2 separate regions of the Homo sapiens genome follow, and region 1 is linked to region 2. Evidence: promoter capture Hi-C in human tissues and cell types (Jung and others, 2019). All regions are on one chromosome and are shown on one strand. The core of a region is centred on a gene start or on the middle of the fragment in contact, and the rest is flanking DNA. Distances in the headings are between cores, read along the strand shown.

The links. The method cuts DNA at HindIII sites, captures the fragments that hold promoters and counts their contacts. A contact is called where the count stands out against the background at its distance.
Region 1: a fragment that was not itself captured here is called in contact with the fragment with the promoter of PRUNE2 in region 2 in 2 of the 25 tissues and cell types used here (H1 embryonic stem cells and psoas muscle).

Annotation. Positions count from the first base shown.
Region 1 is chr9:76,794,385-76,797,370 of GRCh38, forward strand. All of the region lies in intron 6 of PRUNE2 (prune homolog 2 with BCH domain), which reads right to left. Among named protein-coding and RNA genes, the nearest start is that of PCA3, 31 kb to the left of the region's middle. The HindIII fragment of the contact is 6,528 bases long and covers 1-2,986 here.
Region 2 is chr9:76,904,182-76,907,369 of GRCh38, forward strand. PRUNE2 (prune homolog 2 with BCH domain) reads right to left here and starts at 1,933. Exons shown (of 19, transcript NM_015225.3): 1 at 1,747-1,933. The coding sequence starts at 1,782. RefSeq lists a silencer at 2,003-2,062. The HindIII fragment of the contact is 8,445 bases long and covers 1-3,188 here.

The DNA.
Region 1 (2,986 bases), core at 41-2,540, 110 kb before region 2:
GGCAGGGGGATCACGAGGTTAAGAGATCGAGGTCATCCTGGCCAACACAGTGAAACCCTGTCTCTACTAAAAATACAAAAATTAGCTGGGCGTAGTGGCCGGCGCCTGTAGTCCCAGCTACTCGGGAGGCTGAGGCAAGAGAATCGCTTGAATCTCGGAGGCAGAGGTTGCAGTGAGCCCAGATCGCACCACTGCACTCCAGCCTGGCGACAAAGAGAGACTCTGTCTCAAAAAAAAAAAAAAAAAGAAAAGAAAAGAAAGAAAGAAAAAGAAAGAGTGCAGCACCTGGAAGGGGAATCCCTGGAAAGAAAGCTTAGTTTCTTCACCATTTAGTAGCTGTCCGACCTCGAGCAAAGTTACATACCTTCTCCAGGCCTCAGTCATCTGCTATATATGTATAATGGGAATGCAAATACCAAGTAACTACCTCATGGAGTGGCCCTAAGAATTAAATAGGACAAATCACATTAAGTTTTAAGCAAAGTGTCCAGAACATACTCAGAATTTGATATGTATTACCAATTATTATAATTATTATTACTTGAATTATCAGTCTGTTGATGTAGACCTACTAGAAGGAAAAAATACCCTCCAATGCTCTTCTGCCTGCCACGAAGGAAGGCAAGAGAAGTTACTGGACTCCCACTGCTCTAACATATGGTCAGAGACAACAGAGAAGCCTTACCTGGGAATGGGGGCCTAATTGAATGACGCTGGCCAGGGTGACTGGGTTCCAGCTGTCGGATGCTGAGAGGAAGCTTTGGCCAATCTCCAGAATGAATATGCATGAACTATTACTCTAGCTAGGTCTCAGTATCATACCCTATCAGTATCTCGGGCACACATGTGTCCAAAGAGCAGATCTGCCTTCTAGATAATGCTACCATCAGTAACACTGGGCTTCAAAGACATCACACCGTCAAAACACCATAACTATGGTCACCAAACTGCGGAGACCCAGACAAACATTGAGAGAAGTCAGGCACTAGACCCAGACCCCTGCCTTTGAGAGGGGTCTTATTTCTGATCCCTCCAATGTCATTCTGTGAATCCCATCTTAGCAGACCCCATTGGATCTTGAAACAGCCCCAGCCCAGAGACAGTTCACAATTCAACTTGTCTTGGTTTGTGATTCAACCTGATTTTGAGTTACTAATAGCCCCTGGGGGGGAGCATGTTCTCCCAAAAGTGATGTGATCATGTTATCTCTGCCTTATGGTTTCTTGTACACGAGCCTAAAAGGGGAAAGAGGGGGCACAGAAAGGGGCAGAGGAAGGAAGGGGAGATAAATGCAAATATTTTGTTCACCGTAAAAATACAGAATTTTATTGACAGGATCCAAATACGGTACTTTTAATGAATCATGTAGTCCACCTTCTATACCTGGTGGTTAGTACATCCCATTAATTCAAAGCCCCAGGTGTACATAAAAATCACACATAACTTTTTTAACAAATGGCCAGAAACCATTTAATATTGAAGTACTTCTGCCTGGACATTGACTTTTCATATTGAGAAAATTTCTGAGAGAATAAGACTCAAACAGATAGATATTGGTATTGGGACTATAAGACTACCGTAAAACAACTGCAGAATCTGATAAATCAAGGGAACTAATTTACTGTTCCAATCACTCACTTCACAGGTGCCTCATTTCAAAGTTTAACCCAGGCTCTAATGTTTAAATCAAGTTTGTGTATAATTTGGGTAAATAAAATGCTTTTCTTTACAAAAGATATATGATCACTCATAAAATTTTGCCAGGTAAATTGCTTAAGAACGCACAGCACTCTTCTATTAGCAACCTAAGATCCAAATCTTGCTAGCTCCAAAGGAATTTTTTAAATAAGCAAGAAGAGGAACTGTAGAAGGGACCACGCAATGGACTGGTTCAATGACAATATCATTAAATGACAAGGGCTGATAAAATAAAGCCTCGCTACGATCATTACCCCAGGGCACAGGAGAAGCACACATGCTTCTCCTCCTGAGGCCCTCATGCCCCAGGAAGGATAGGCAAAGAAACATGCGTGGTGAGAAAGCAGAAATCTGAGAGGATTCTGTAAAAGAACTTGAATCATCAAGATCCTCATTTTGGCACGGCCCCCACCACTTCTTCCCCTGATTGGTGTCACAAGTGTCTGGCATGCACTTTATGCTACTCACACAACCTGTTTTACTATAAAATGGGTAGACTGAAAGAATGCCTCCTTACAGCTGGCATTTATGCATTTCCTAATTGTCATAGTTAATTTTGTATGTGTCAACTTGACTGCCACATGGGATGTCCGGACATTTGGCCAAACATTACATTCTAGGTATGTCTCTGATGGTGTTTCTGCATGAGATTAACACTGGAATTAGCAGACCGGGTAAAGCTGACCACTTTCCCCCGTGTGGGTAGACCCCATCCAATCAACTGAAGACTCAAATAGAACAAGAAGGCTGAGGAAGAGGGAGCCTCTCCTGCAGAACTTCAGTCTTTTCTGGCCTTAGGATGCAAACTGAAACATTCATTCTTCTTGGATCTTGATCCTGCCAGCTTTCAGATCAAAATTAATCTAGACGCTGTTGGCTCTGTCTCTCTGAAGAACCCTGACCAATACACCCATTTACTGAGATTGTTTCCAAAATGAAATCACACACTCACACATACACACACACACAAGCATTTAACAGTGTTACTACTGGGAGAGGAATTGGGGAGAAAAAAGGGTTTACTTTACATTTTGATCACTGTGTACTGTTAAAATTTTCTAACTTTATATATGTATTATTTTTAGTTTAAAAATAGTAATAGGAATTATCAGGTCAGAAAGAATGTATTTCATTAGTTATAGTTTCTCTTTTACGTTCTATATAATTGAAAAAAAATATTTCTATAGGTATAAATATATAAAAATGCACAGAAAAAGAACTGAAAAGGGATATACCAAATTGGCAATTACTTCTGGTTTGAGATTGAGGTGATGATAGTCAAGGGTGA
Region 2 (3,188 bases), core at 683-3,182:
TAAGACATGAAACTGGTAACAATATTTCAAACAACCGCTTCTCTTTCCTGTCCTTTTTTTTTTAATGATGTAGAGCAATTGCTCGTCTAATGAAGGGTAAATAAATTACAGATTACTTTCAACTCATTACTCGGAAATAGGGAAACTTCCATTCCAGCAACTGCTCCTCAGAATTGAGACAAACCTCTTGCTCATATCAGACCCCACAGTCTAAATGTTTATTGTGAAAATATTGATAAATAAATGTTATGGGAGTGAAAAACAGATACAGCCCAGAACTCTGTGTTTGTCATTGATTACCATTTTCATACACACACACGCACAGTTGCCAAAATTGTCTTTCATTTTTGAACATTTCTCCTTCATTACTAGGTAAAGAACAGAACATGTACTTATACTATCAGAAATGCCAAATACTTACTTGAGTTTCTGAAATTAGTATTTTCATCCATGTGCTCTAGTAAAACTATAAAAGGGTCAATAAACACAGAGATGATCACAAACTTCCTCAACTCGGAAATCTCCACAAACGTTCAACTCTCTGGGAGGTTTCAGGTAGAAAGTTTTATATAAGCACTTATCAACTTTAATGGTCTTTTACAAGATAGTTACAGTTAGACCATTGTAAGGATCACACTTCCGTCTGCACTCTGAATGGTGGTTCAGGCATCTTTGGGCCCTCCCTTCCTGCACTCCCTTTGTTGTGCGAGGGTAAATGAGTTACAGTAATAACCCTGCAAATATCCTGCCTTGTGATTAAAACATTACCTTAATGCAGACTTTACATTTTGGCTTCTATGAAGGCTTAAAGGTTAAAGGCATCATAAATTATGCATTTCTTTCTATGCCAGGCCTGTAAAAGGTGCTTTTACAGTTCTTTAAAGATATTGCTTCTAAATGAGTACAGGCTTTTCTTTTTTTTTCTGCCAAAACAGAAACATTTCCATTATGTTTATTACTGCTGTGCTGGAGAGCCAAAACAGTTTGGAATTAAGAAACTGCTAGAGTCTGTTGTTTCAGAATGTGTAGCAACTGTTAACATACACAGTGGAGTTGCCCATTCACTGTTTGGACAGTGATATGGTAAACATGGGCTAACACACAGGTCTGCTCCCGGGAGAACGATGATCTGGTAAACTCCAGAACACCAACAGTTAGAGCTTTCCCCTTCTGCCTCCGCCCCAATTTACAGATGTGAACAGGAATTAGCGAGACACAAGACACACTAGAATATCCCTAACTCCTGCAGTGGAGCAAGCTCTATTCTGTGGATTCTCCAGTACCACACATGTCCTTGCTACCCAGCACCCTGACTTCCTCACTTTTGTCACCTCCAGCTGAAGTACAGTTCTAAGGGTCTCTTTTTTTCCTTTTACACTTACACGTAATGCATCTGCAGAAGGCTGGGCTCTTTATCTCAAGGAAGACCACACCCATTTATCCCTTAGCTTTCAGGAGCAAACTGCTGATTTAGGGACCGAAGCTGGACTGAAGCGACCCAACTTCAGCCAGGCCACAACCTCCTTCAGCTCTGCACCTCGTCTGGTTGCGGTGGAGGATTCTGGAGACAGATTGCCAGCTTTAAGAGCCAGAGTTCCTGAGATTTCTTCCAGGAGACAACCCGCACACCCTGATAACTCCGTGGCAAAGTTGTTTCTTCCTCCTCTGCTGCAACACCTTTTCCTCTCCACCTTTCCATTAGCATACGCGCGCGCGCACACACACAGCTTTGCTCACTCAACTTACCAGTTTAGATTTGGCGCGTTGCAAAAATTCTTCCATGTCGTGGCTAGGGGTTTGGAACCCGGGTACTCGGAGGGGCGCAGTGGAAAATCTCGGCCCAAGGAAGACGAGCGGGGTCCCGGGAAAGTGGCCCGCCGGGGCGCAGCGACCGACTGCTCCCTCCTGCCGCTCTGAGGCGGCTGCGGCGGAGGCTGTGCTTGCGCCCTCGACCGTCTCGCCCAGGGCTCCCCGCCCCACCCCTCGCCCGGCCGCCGGCTCTGGGCACCCGACTCTGCCCTAATAAGGAAAGTGGGTGTGCCGCCCAGGAGCCCCGGGGCGCGCCGGGCACGCTCTCTGGCACGCGCCTCGGGCGCCGTGGCGCGTGGGCGGAGGTGCAGGGGTATGGCGAGGGGCTCCTCCGCCAATCGCAGGGCCGTGCTGCGGCCTCCTGACGTGGCGCGCCGAAAGCTGCTGCAACCATGGACAGCGCCCAGAAGTGCGAGCCAAGTGCAAGGGGCTGCTGCAGAGGGAGGCTCTGCCGCAGGCACCGCCGCGGTCAGCGGGGGAAGGTGGGAAGAGGGAGACGGGTCCCAGGAGAGCCCCCGCCTCGCCCAGCGCCTCACTGGCTGGCTGGCGCGTTACGGAGCACTCCGGCGGTCACTTAATGATCTGGTCGGCTGGCCTGGCCGGGGGAGGCACTCAGCTAGATTGGCGTGGGAGGGACGAGGAGAGAAAGAGGGGAGTTACTGCTGAGCTAAAAGCAGTACGACCTTGATGGATAATAATCAGAAGAGCAGGCTAGGAGGTTGGGCGAGGCTGCGTCTTTCCTCCCTACCATGAAAACATGTCCACACAACAATGGGCATCCACAGTTCACCCCAACTAGGTGCCCTTATGTCAGCCCTGGGACTAATGCATAGATACATCCTTCTGCAGTTCCCATCCACTGACATGTACCCTCAGGGAAAGCTGGGGCAATAGAACCTTGCTAAGGTGAGGTGCAGTCTGCAGACCGGCAACATCAGCATCGCTGATCTTATAGAAATGCAGAACCTCAGTCCCCTGCTCCTACTTACCAAATCAGAATCTGTGTGTTTCTATGAGACCCTCAGATGATTTCTATGCTTGTTAAAGTTTAAGAAGTACTACAATGAACAAATGAACTTATATCTACAAACCTTATTTTAAATCATGGGGTTTTGTTGTATGTAGCCTTGTCCGGTCCCCAAACACACTACATCAGGCTTTCTCTGACCTCTGGGCTTTTGCACACCACCTGTAAGATCCTTCCAGCCCTTGTCCTAGCCCCCAGCCTCAGCTGTTCTACAGAAGTAGCCTCAACCCTGACTGCACAGTAAAATCACATCGTAATCACCTGAGACTTGAGAAAGTACTGATACCAGGGCTTTATCCCAGTCCAATTAAATTAATATCTCTGGGCATGGGGCCACAGCATTTCTGTGGAA